Linked DNA regions of Homo sapiens: region 1 is linked to region 2. The links are contacts of gene promoters, found by promoter capture Hi-C in human tissues and cell types (Jung and others, 2019). All regions are on one chromosome and are shown on one strand. The core of a region is centred on a gene start or on the middle of the fragment in contact, and the rest is flanking DNA. Distances in the headings are between cores, read along the strand shown. Region 1 has its middle 19 kb from the start of EYA3. Region 2 holds the start of YTHDF2 (YTH N6-methyladenosine RNA binding protein F2).

The links. The method cuts DNA at HindIII sites, captures the fragments that hold promoters and counts their contacts. A contact is called where the count stands out against the background at its distance.
Region 1: a contact is called between a fragment that was not itself captured here and the fragment with the promoter of YTHDF2 in region 2, in 1 of the 25 tissues and cell types used here (hippocampus).

Annotation. Positions count from the first base shown.
Region 1 is chr1:28,104,122-28,110,613 of GRCh38, forward strand. No RefSeq gene overlaps it. Among named protein-coding and RNA genes, the nearest start is that of EYA3, 19 kb to the left of the region's middle. The HindIII fragment of the contact is 4,559 bases long and covers 1-3,723 here.
Region 2 is chr1:28,734,154-28,740,167 of GRCh38, forward strand. It overlaps YTHDF2 (YTH N6-methyladenosine RNA binding protein F2), which reads left to right and starts at 2,787. Exons shown (of 5, transcript NM_016258.3): 1 at 2,787-2,994; 2 at 3,505-3,529; 3 at 4,106-4,185. The coding sequence starts at 2,968. RefSeq lists enhancers at 704-1,603, 2,134-2,183, 2,503-3,401, 3,284-3,393. The HindIII fragment of the contact is 10,776 bases long and covers 1-6,014 here.

The DNA of each region.
Region 1 (6,492 bases), core at 194-2,693, 630 kb before region 2:
AGCAATTAGAAGATATTATGAGGCAGGGTATGGTGGCTCACCCCTCTAATCCCAGTATTTTTGGAGGCCAAGGCTGGAGGATTGCTTGAGCCTAGGAGTTCGAGACCAGCCTGGGCAACATAGCGAAACCCTGTCTCTACAAATAATACAAAAGAAAAAAATTAGCTAGACATGGTGGCACCTGTGGTCCCAGCTACTCAGGAGGCTGAGGCAGGAGGACCACCTGAACCTAGGAGGTTGAGGCTGCAGTGAGTCGTGATTGCACCACTGCACTTCCAGCCTGGGCGACAGAGTGAGACCCTGTTTCAAAACAAAACAAACAAACAAACAAAACTTCCTGCTACCTAGATCCCTGGAGCTACCCTGTATGCTTTTTCTGAGGCTTGACGTTCAGCTTTCCTTCGGTAAGCTATCCCATATCTTTCCAATAAAATATTTTTGTTGTTGTTGTTATTAAGACCAGAATTGGTCACTGATGTTTTCAATCAATGAACCATGGCTGATCCAATGTCTTATCTATAAAAGACATAGAAAATCGGCATAGTGAAAATTCCTAGCATAAAAAAACTATTGCTTTTATGTAACAGTTTAATATTCTCCAGGCAAGAGGCAAATTACAACTTTGTGAAATGGGCTGTGAGCTACAAAACTAATAAAAATCATTCAGAGGTGAAAAGAATGAAAGGTGAGAGAGGCATTACATGTACTCTGCCTCTGGAATACAATTCCACTTCCCTACCAAAGAAGGCAATGGGAGGAGAAGGAAGCGGAAAGTAGAAAAAGCTTCTCCGGCTCCCCTGAATAGGAATCTGGCAATAATCTGGCTGCTATTTACTAGCATGCAGCATCCGAGGCACTGTGTTAGTCCTTCATATGCAGCGCCTCACTGACTTCTCCCAAGGGCACAATTATTATCTATCATTTGGCTATATATATTCTGATTCTCTCCACTTTACAGAAAACTGGGGCTCAAGGTTGTTAAATCATTAAGTCGAAGTCCCAGAGGTGGGAAGGGCGGGATCCAAACACAAGTGTGTGACTCCAGCGCTGGGGTAGGAGCACCTTGAAGGTGAAGGAGCCCAGCGAGCTGCAGCTTCCTAGTCCAGCCTCACGTCATCATCCCTGAGACCTAAGCTCCTCCCACTCAGATTCCTGAGCCAATCCGGAGAGAGGCCAATGGATATTGATAGACTCTGCATCTCTCCACCCTCTCTGAACCCAAGAGCTTTGTTTGCAAACTTGGTACAAAGCACTCAACTGCTAGCTTCCGAGGTTCCCATGAGTCACCTCTGCTGCCTGCAAGATCTGGGTCTGGATGAGCCCTAGCCACCCCTATACCCCACCCTCCCAAGTTATGGCACTTTGTAAGCCCTGCTTCTCTCTGTTTGTGTCATTTACCAGGGCTAGATTTCTCCCACTCCCATTCTCCGAGACTTAGTAAAGCCTAGTGGTTACATTTAGTAGGGTTACACAACAACCCTACTAAAAAGGCATGGTTATCATTTGTATTTTTAGGTTGAGGAGCCTGAAGATGAAGACTCTTACACACAGAAGCACAGACTTTGGTCTGCTTCACCACTGCTTCTGTGTATAAGATTTAGTTGGGGTTGCTGTGAGGATAAAATGCACTAACCTATATAACGTGTGTGTGTGTGTGTGTGTGTGTGTGTGTGTGTGTGTGTGTATTACAGTGCCTGGCACCTCGTAAGCACTCAGTAAACAATAGTTGCTATTCTCATTACTTTCATTGTTCATTGTTATCCCCATCCTATAGTCTGTCCAGCCTAACTTTCATCCCCATCTTCTGGTTTGGGGCCTAGATCTCCTGCCTCTTCTTGTCAATACATATTTTTTTTCTCTCTAGAAGTGAATCCCAACTCTGGGAGGACTCCCAGGTCACTGATGAGTCTTCTTCTGTTATACAGATCTCCCAGAATCAGGAGTTTGGCCTGCCTGACTTTTTCATTTATTAAACTTATTTCCAAGTGGATTTTTGTTGTGATGCTCACCAATTTTCATTTAGGACTTGAATGTAGGTAGTAGCCCCTGGGAGAATCAATAAAGGATGGGGGTACATGGGCTGGGGTTAGAGGCTGGACTCTTAAGTTAGCTGGGCCTGACCTGGCCCTTGCTGGCTGTGCTTCAGTTTCCTCAGCTACAAAATGGGGAGTTTTGGTCAGGTGCGGTGGCTCACGCCTGTAATCCCAACACTTTGGGAGGCCAAGGCAGGCACATCACTTGAGGTCAGGAGTTCGAGACCAGCCTGACCAACATGGTGAAGCCTTCCATCTCTACAAAAAATAATAAAAAAAAAATTAGCCAGGCATGGTGGCTCATGCCTGTAATCCCAGCTATTCGGGAGGCTGAGGCAAGAGAATCAATTGAACCCGGGAGGCAGAGATTGCAGTGAGCCGAGATCATGCCAGTGCACTCCAGCCTGGGCAACAGACCGAGACTCTGTCTCAAAAATAAATAAATAAAATAAAATAAAATGAGGAGTCTCTCTCTTTCAGGGATGTAGCAAGGATTCCATGATATAGTGTCTGGAAAGCCCATGTGCCTGGCACAGTGTAGGTATGAATGATGTCAGTTTCCTTCCCTCTTGGGCCCATCAGCAGCTTGAAATACTGCCAAAAGCATCTTAAAAGAGAGGTCCCATCTCTAAGGAAGTGGAAGGGTACCCTCTCTCCTGTTGCCCCCTCTCCTGTTGCCCCTTCTACTTTCTCCCCAGCCACTCCCTCCTTTCATCAGATGAAACTTTGTCATTCTGAAGTTGGGGGTGGGAGGTAGGGAAACAATGGGCAGAGAGGCTGTTCTGAGGGCCCCACGTGGCCCTCCCTGCTCGAATGCCATTTGGTCAGGAACCAGGCTTGCCATTTACAAAAACACATCCGTTCTGGAAACTACCACTTAAGGAAAAACTTTTTTGAGTCTTCAAAAACAGCAGTAAAAGGCAGGGCATGGTGGCTCACGCCTGTAATCCTAGCACTTTGGGAGGCCAAGGTGGGCGGATCACCTGAGGTCAGAAGTTAGAGACCATCCTGACCAACATGGAGAAACCCTATCTCTACTAAAACTACAAAATTAGCCTGGCGTGGTGGTGCATGCCTGTAATCCCACCTATTCGGGAAGACTGAAGCAGGAGAATTGCTTGAACCTGGGAGGCGGATGTTGCAGTGAGCTGAGATTGCGCCATTGCACTCCAGCCTGGGCAACAAGAGCAAAACTCCATCTCAATAAAATAAATAAATAAAATAAAACAAAAACAGCAGTAAAGATGATTAAAGAGGTAGAGAACAGGGCCTGTAGGGAAAACTCCAGAACCTGGATTGTTTAGGTTAAGGAAGTAAAGGCTGAAGGGCTAGGATGAGCTGCTGAGAAACAGTATTTGAGGAGGCAGAGCCAAATAGGACTGGTAAGTATATGCTATAGATTGAAAGGGGCGAGAGGAAGGGCGTTAAAAGGGTCTTGGCAAGTCCATTGATGCAGGGGCCTAAATTAGGTGGCTCTCCTTAAGAAAAAGAATGCAGAATTATAAATACAACATTACTAGGACCCTTCTTGGGCTTTAAAAGGAGTTTGTGCAGGTGAGGGGCCCTGGGGCTTAAACTCTGCTAACTTCACAGTGAATTTACCTCTAGCCAAGGGTGCAACAAGTGATCTGGTAACACAGGTTAGGGAAATGGTCTCAGAGCTTGATTGTTCTGGAAACTTCTTCTCTTCCCCTAATTCCTTCTTAGCTTGCAAAATGCAATGCAAGCCTGCCCTCCACTCAGAACTCCTATCAGACGTGGCCCTTCCCCACCATGGCGGTTTCATGCTTCTCCTTCATGCCTGCACCTATCACACACTCATTTGTACCACTCTGCTTGTGTATTAGTCATCTACTGCCATGTAACAAATTCTCCAAAATGTAGGGGCTTAAGACTATATCAATTCATTCTCTCAGTTTTAATGGATCAGGCATCCAGGCATGGCTTGGCTAAGTCCTTGGTCAGCGAAGGCTCAATGGAAAAGATCTGCTTCCTAGCTCACATGATTGTTGGCAGAATTCAGTTCCTCACAGGCTGTTGGACTGAGGCCTCAGTTCCTCAAGAGCTGCTAGCGGGAGGCCTCCCTGGGTTCCCTGCTACATAGGCCTCTCCATCAAGTAAGTGTGGCAGCTGGCTTCATCAGACCAAGCAAATGAGAGGGCAAGGAAAAGAGAGAGAGAGCTACCAAGATGGAAGTCACAGTTCTTTGTAACCTAATCACAGAAGTGACATCCTATCACTTTTGTCATATTCCATTCATCAGAAGCAATTCACTAGGTCCAGCCCATATTCATGGGTAGGGAATTACACAAGGGCATGAATATCAGGAAGCAGGGATCACTGGAAACCTTGTCGAAAGCCGCCACCACAACTGTCACTCCTTCTCATTAACTGTTGCCCTGCCTGCCTCTGCCATTCCATTATGAGCTCCTTGAAGACGAGGACCACATTTTACTCTGTGCTTCTTGTGCTTGTTAAGTGAATGGATGATGAATAAATGAGTGATTACTTACTCAAAGTAGCAGAAACAGAACCAAAAGCAAGTGCATCATTTTACTTAAAAGAGATTGCTATTTATTGTCTTCTGACCCAGCCATTTCACTTCTGGAAAGTTAAGAAAATAATCAAGAATGTAATTATAAGAGTATATTAAGAAACTTAGTTAAGGCTGGGAGCGGTGGCTCACTGTAATCCCAGCACTTTGGGAGGCCGAAACAGGTGGATCACTTGAGGTCAGGAGTTCGAGACCAGCCTGGTCAACATGGCAAAACCCCATCTCTACTAAAAATGCAAAAAAAATTAGATGGGCATGATGGCACATCCCTATAATCCCAGCTACATGGGAGGCTGAGGCACGAGAATAGCTTGAACCCAGGAGAAGGAGGTTGCAGTGAGCCGAGCCTGCACTCCAGCTTGGGCAAGAGTGAGACTGTGTCTCAAAAAAAAAAAAAGAAGAGGCTTAGTTAAAAGGTAGTCCGTTACAGCATTGTTTACAATAGCAAACTGCCCTCTCAAAAACAAAAATAAAAACAGCTAAACTGTAAACTAACTGAATGTCCAATGATAAAGGATTGATTAGCTGCTAAGCTATACACATACAGTGGATATTCTGCAGTCATCAAAATGAAAAATGCCTTGTCTTGCTCTGTCGCCCAGGCTGGAGTGCAATGGTGTGATCTCAGCTCACTGCAATCTCCGCCTCCCAGGTTAAAGCAATTCTCCTGCCTCAGCCTCCCGAGTAGCTGGAATTATAGGTGCACACCACCACGCCCGGCTAATTTTTATATTTTTAGTAGAGATGGGGTTTCACCATATTGGCCAGGCTGGTCTCTTGGCCAGGCTAGTCTTGAACTCCTGACATTGTGATCTGCCTGCCTCGGCCTCCCAAGCTGCTGGGATTACAGGCGTGAGCCACCACACCTGGCCAGTACTTCTTTTTTAAGTTACAAAGCAGCGTATGCATTTCATCTTTATACAAAGTGAATATACATGTTAAAATATCTGGGGCAGATACTACTTAGTCCAGGGCCTGATAGCTAGGCTGGTTCTCTCCTTTCGAATGGGAGACCTCTGCTGCAGACAAGCTCCAGCAGATCCTCAGTCAGGCCAAGAAGCATCTGAGCTTGATCCCTTCTTTGTATTTATTGGATTTAGAGGTATTAGAAAAGCATTGTATGTCTTAAGTCTGGCATTGTTCAATCCGGATGTTAGGACAGAAAGAATTACCCAGAGGCCTGGTGTGGTGGCTCATGTCTATAATCCCAGCTTTTTGAGAGGCCAAGGTGAGCAGATCACTTGAGGCCAGGAGTTCAAGACCAGCCTGGCCAACATGGTGAAACGCTGTCTCTACTAAAAATACAACAAATTAGCTGGATGTGGTGGCATGTGCCTGTAATCCCAGCTACTCGGGAGGCTGAGGCAAGAGAACTGATTGAACTTTGGAGGCAGAGGTTGCAGTGAGCTTAGATCGTGACACTGTGCTCCCGCCTGGGCGACGAAGCGAGACTCAGTCTCAAAAAAAAAAATAAATAAAAAGGAAAGAAAGAATAACCCAGAGCCCTGTAACAAACTGGGTCCCAACAATCCATCCAAGTTTTACTCAGTGAATGTGGATTATAGCAAACTGAAGAAAGAAGGTCCAGATTTGTAAATGAAGTGTTTCACTATTAAAGCTGCTTTCGAATGAAGGTCTTTCTGAAGCCATCCGCACAATTTTCCATTTAATCAGGAAATATTTGTCCTCTAAATACATGAAATCATGTTGATGTAATGTGTTGGAGATTACCCTGATTAATAAATAATTGAAACTTGAAAAATAAATCTGGAAGGATTAGATCAGTTTTGAACGGCCATGAAGTTCAGATAAGCCAATTTTAAGTTTCATTAAACAAATAGGTGTTTTGGTTTTTTGTGTTATTCACATGACAAGATGTCTGGAGTCAGGCAGGTTCTGGCCCTA
Region 2 (6,014 bases), core at 1,537-4,036:
TGAATGCTTCATTTACCCAGCGGCAGAGCTGAACCTAGAATCTAAACATTTCCAGTACAGTATTATTTTCTTCAAACCATGAAATGACACCACATATTCCAACTTCCCCTCTCTCTTTCCAGTGATTAAATATTATCAGTCTTCTGGGTTCTGTTTCTTCAGGGGCCTGTTAAAAGCCATCATGGTAAACGAATCCAGGTTTAGAGATTACCCTTTTCCTAAGGATAATTTGCATTTTAACTGGGAACTTCTGGCAAACAGAAAGTCATCCCAAAGGAACTAATAAAAACTCCTGGCACCATTCTTTCTTGGAGGGAAAGAATTTTTACTTAAATCGCTTAATGGGATTATAGGAAATGAACTTACACTGTGCCACACATGCTTTAATGTCAGCTTTTAAAAAAATTTTAATTTTACTTATTTTATTTACTTTTTTGAGACAGAGTCTCGCTTTATCACCCAGGCTGGAGTACAATTGCGCGATCTCGGCTCACTGCAAGCTCCGCCTCCTGTGGTCAAGTGATTCTCCTGCCTCAGCCTCCCGAGTAGCTGGGATTCCAGGGGCCCACCACCACGCTCAAGCTAATTTTTGTATTTTTAGTACCGACGTGGTTTCACCGTGTTGGGCAGGCTAGTCTTGAATTCCTGACCTCGGGTGATCTGCCCTCCTCGGCCTCCCAAAATACTGGGATTACAGGCGTGAGCCACCGCACCCGGCTTTTTTTTTTTTTTTTAAAGTTTATCTTCACGACAAACCTGTTGGGTAGGTATCATTATCCATCATCCCCTTTATCAAATGAGGGAATCTAAGAAAGGTTTTAGTTGTTTACCCAGTATTGCACATCTGGGTGGGGAAACCATTATTTAGACCCTTTGTCTCCCAGCATATGACTTCTCGTCTAATGCTGTTTTTACAATGCCATGTTGCCTCCAAGGGTAAGTATAGGCAACCGCTTACAGTTTATACATAAATCTGGGCCATGGAGCTAAGTGGCTGATTATTATTATTTGTTATTTATTTATTTATTTATTTTGAGACGAGTCTCGCTCTGTTGCCCAGGCTGGAGTGTAATGGCGTGATCTCGGCTCACTGCAACCTCTGCCTCCCGGGTTCAAGCGATTCTCCTGCCTCAGCCTCCGATTAGCTGGGACTACAGGTGCATGGCACCATGCCCAGCTAATTTTTGTATTTTTAGTAGAGTCGAGATTTCACCATGTTGGCCAGGATGGTCTCGATCTTCTGACCTCATGATCCGGCCCGCCTTGGCCTCCCAAAGTGCTGGGATTACAAACATGAGCCACCGCGCCCGCCGTAGCCGAGTATCTTTAAAAAGAAGTATTACTAGGTTTATTCTATTCCCTTGATGGAATCTATGCTCCCAGACTTGACATTTTACTGTCTCCATTAAAAGTCCTTCACCTTTGGTGCCTGACCTTACTCATTCCTACCATAAATGTGATTATGGGCAGAGAAAAAAAGTGCTTTGAGCACTTTGACCAAATTATGATGTTAAATCCAAGATGCCATGTTATTTATTTTACCGAGTCCACCCAAGCCTCCTATATCCAGCGTGTGGATAGTACGAGGTTGACAATTAGTGCATTAGTTACCTGTTTACCACGACGTACTTGCAATAACAAAAGCTATTAGATGGGCTTTCCTAGTATCAAATATTCCTGCATGAGTTGGCTTTGCTTCTGATTGAAAATACTTTTGCCCATCCTTTGCATCTCCCCTATATTCTGGTTCCCTAATACAGAGTCTCGTAGGGGTAGAGAGATACCATTATGTTAGTGTCAGATACACCTGGCTATTTAATAGTTTTGTAAACTTGGGCACATTACTTAAGCTTTCTGTTTTTCCAGTCGTAAAAAACCGAAAGACTGATAGCGATTTTGAAGTTGTCGAAAGACTTTAATGTGTTTGAAAATACCTAACAACAAAGCCTGGCCCACAGCTGGTATTTCAATAATGTTAATTTCCTTGCTTCCCTCTTGAGGTCCTTAAGATTCATAGGTTCTCCGGACTCCTTGAAAGTTTTGTGTAGATGCATGAGGTGTATTTTTCTTGGAAATAAAGTCCACAATTTAACAGATTATCTTGGGGCCAGCGATTTCCCCGAAAATAAATTGTAGATTCTCCTTCCTGCAATGCTAAGGGGTGAATCTCTTTTGCGGGAGACTGGATTCTTTCGGTGTGTGTTTTGCTCTCTGGGTACTCTTTCTGTAGTCGGCTAACAGAGGATGACCAAGCCCCTCGCGGGGGCGGGGGCGGGTCACTCCCGGACAGGGCCCCCATGAAGTTTCCCTGGGGACTGTGTGACTCCCTAGGGGTCGGGTTACCTCCCAGATGGGGGTGGGGTATCACTTGCAGCTGGAAGGCAGGTTCATTTTAAGGTCTCGCGGGCTTCGGAGGCCCCTCCCTCACTGAGAAACCGGCTTTTGTCGTTCTTCTGAAGCCAGAGCTAGTCTTTCCAGGTGTTAGTCGAAACCTCGTGGTGCGACCCTGGTCGTCCCAAACCCCCTAGGCCTTAATCCTGGGGCGGTGGGGGCGGGGAGGCCGTGAGCACGGCTTCCGCTCCTCCAATCCGCCAGAGGGCGCAGCGGCCGGCCTCTCCCTTCCCGGGGTTCTTCGCGCCGGGCCCCTTCCGCGTGGGTGAGTGAATGTGAGAGTCAGCGCTCGCGCCGCGCGCGCCGCCCGCCTCCGCTGTTCGGCGCTCTGCTTTAGGCGGTGGGGGGCGGGCGCGCGCGTAAAAGCATAGAGACGGGCATTGAGCTCTTGGGCTAGAGCGTCGCCGAGTCGGAGCCGGAGCCTGAGCCGCGCGCTGTGTCTCCGCTGCGTCCGCCGAGGCCCCCGAGTGTCAGGGACAAAAGCCTCCGCCTGCTCCCGCAGACGGGGCTCATCTGCCGCCGCCGCCGCGCTGAGGAGAGTTCGCCGCCGTCGCCGCCCGTGAGGATCTGAGAGCCATGTCGGCCAGCAGCCTCTTGGAGCAGGTACAGGCCCGGCCCGCATGCCTCGGCCATTGTGTGAGGCGAGAAGGAGCCCGACTAGGCCCGGGCCCGCCGCTCCTGGGCAGGCCGAGCCGAGCCGAGGCGTCGTCTCTTGCGGGCCAGGTTTCGGGCCTCTCAGGCCGGCCGCGCCCGGCGCCTCTCCCTCAGCCTGTTCTTCCCGCTTCTCCTCGGGCCTCGGAGCCCACGGGCCGGGCCGCGCCGCGTTCCCTTCTCTCGGCGGGCCTCGTTTTCCTTCCTTGTTTCCTTCCCCTTCCTTAAAGCCCTGGGTTCCTCGCGTCGCCGGTGGCGCGTCTGCCGCGTTTTCTCCCCTGCCCCACGGGCCTGGCGCTTTCCCCCGCCTCCCATTTTCAGCCTCTTCCTCACTACCATTCCTGACGCCTCCCCTCGGGCCTGCTCCTTTATTCTCCCTTCGGGCCCTGCCTTAATTTGTTCTTCCTTTTCCATTTCTCCTTTGGACAACTTGCTGCTCGGCGACGTTTCCTTCCCCTGCAGAGACCAAAAGGTCAAGGAAACAAAGGTAAGTCCCGCTCCGCCGGTGGCCCTGAGCCGGGAGGGGGACGCGGGGCGGTGGGGGCGGGGTCTCCGGGAAGCGCCCCGGGCGGAGGACCTTTCGGAAGCCGCTTAGTTCGCAGGTGCCGCACACTTAAGTATTTTGACCCTTTCGGTGTGTTCTTGCAGCTGGCGAACAGCTTTTTCGCTAACAAGGAGTAATTCATTAAGGGTGGGGGTGGATTGGGTTTTGAAACGCTCCAGGTCCTTAGTTTCCTGTAGGTCTTAGAAGGCCTTTGTTTTTCATCCTCGTGGATCACTCTCTGGAAGTACTCTCATGTGATGGGGGAGGGGAAGCGGGAGGGAATGGAAATCCAGAGGAGCCAATAAAATGACCTTTTTAGATCAACTTGCTCTGGGTGGAGGGGGACATTTTCACTGGCGACTGTCGCTTCAGCATTCACTGTCATCTCTTACCCTTTTGAAGTTCAATCTTACGTGCTTTGTTAACTAGTAAGGTTTTTCTCTGGTTAGCATATATGAACTAATTTGAAAGGAAGATTGTAGGATTGGGACACTCCTAATTGAATTTTTTTTTCTTTAGTACAAAATGGATCTGTACATCAAAAGGATGGATTAAACGATGATGATTTTGAACCTTACTTGAGTCCACAGGCAAGGCCCGTGAGTAGTTAACTATTTACATATCTAATCGAAGGGTGTGGTATATTCTTTCTCCGCCTTCTACCAATAAATCCCATTTTCTGAGGATTCATTTTTTTTTCTTTTTTCTGTTTTCTGTTTTTTTGAGACTGAGTCTCGCTCTGACGCCCAGGCTGGGGTGTAGTGGCGCAATTTCGGCTCGCTCCAACTTCCGCCTCTCGGGTTCAAGCGAATCTCCTGTCTCAGCCTCCCGAGTAGGTGGGATTACACGTGTGCACCACCGCACACAGCTAGTTTTTCTATTTTTTTAGTAGAGACGGGGTTTCATGTTGGCCGGGCTGGTCTTGAACTCCTCAGGTGATTCACCCGCCTTGGCCTCCCAAAGTGCTGGGATTACAGGCGTGAGCCACCACGCCTAGCCGAGGATTCACTTTCTTAATACCTGTATTTTTTCTCTGCCCTCTATCAGGAAATCCCATGTTCTGAGGGTTCACCTCCTTAATACCTATTAATGTATTATAAAACAGTTAACTGCAAATGTCCTAGGCCGTTGAGATTCCCATCTCTGTAATATCAGCAACCATACTGTATTGAGAACGTAATACTGATAACACTCTACTGGCAGTAACATGTGCATGAATAATTGTCTTCTTCCTTACCAAGAATGTAGCAGTGCAGAATTTAGGGATTCTTACAGTGTTAAATATTCTGAATTTTCACCCCAGAGAACTTTGGATTCATATGATAGGGAAAGTTCTAATGTAAAATCACCTGAAGGCGGGAAGATCTCTTGAGCCCAGAAGTTTGAAGCTGCAGTGAGCTATCTACGATCATACCTGTGAAAAGCCACTGCGCTCCAGCCTTGGTGACAGAACAAGATCTGGTCTCTAAAAAATAGTCACCTGAACTTCATTCAGTGCTGCAGGACTGGCTGTCTTTCTTTTCTCTAGTTTATGGGTTCTTAGATTATCAGAACTATTTCGGAGTTAGGAAATTTTTTTTTTTTTTTTTTTGAGACGTAGTGTCAACTCTTGTCACCCAGGCTGGAGTGCAGTGGTGCAATCTCGGCTCACTGCAACCTCTGCCTACCAGGTGATTTTGCCCGCCTCAGCCTCCCAAGTAGCTGGGACCACCATGCCCGGCTAATTTTTTTAATTTTTTTGTAGAGATGGGGGTTTCACTATGTTGCCCAATCTGGTCTTGAATTCCTGAGCTCAAGAGGTCCGCCCTCCTCGACCTCTCAGAAGTGTTGGGATTACAGGTGTGAGCCACCATGCCCGGCTGAGTCAGGAAATTTTTGAGTTGAGCTGCACCTACATCTGTGGAGAATACTTTATTTCTCACCGAAGGGAGGTGTAGGATTTATAAAATGGAGTGAAAGTTAAAATACTGTTTAGCACAAATGAAGATCAATAACGTTGGAGGTTTTTGTGGCATAGTCTTTTAAAGTTGCATGTAGATTCAAATACTAATATGACCTGTGCATGTAGAAACTTGTTTGATTCAGCAGTTCTTTTGTATTATTATCTCTGATTCCAAAGACAGTTACACTGTTGTAACTAATTTAACTCCCCAGATTAATAGGCCAAAAGGAAAACTGGCAATATATCTTCCAAAATGCCCTGAAAGGTCAAGAAATTTATAAGTTCTGAACGTATGCTGTATGAAACATAGTTGGTAGTCCTGAATAACTGCATGCCCATATATGGATCTGATTATCACATAAAACTTGTAGAATCCCTGTGTAAAATTTTCAACACTGAAAGTATAGAAACCACTTGAGCAAGTGATTGGAAAAAAGTTTTCACAAAACACAACCAGTTAATCAGGAAAAGTAGGGAAGGAAGTAG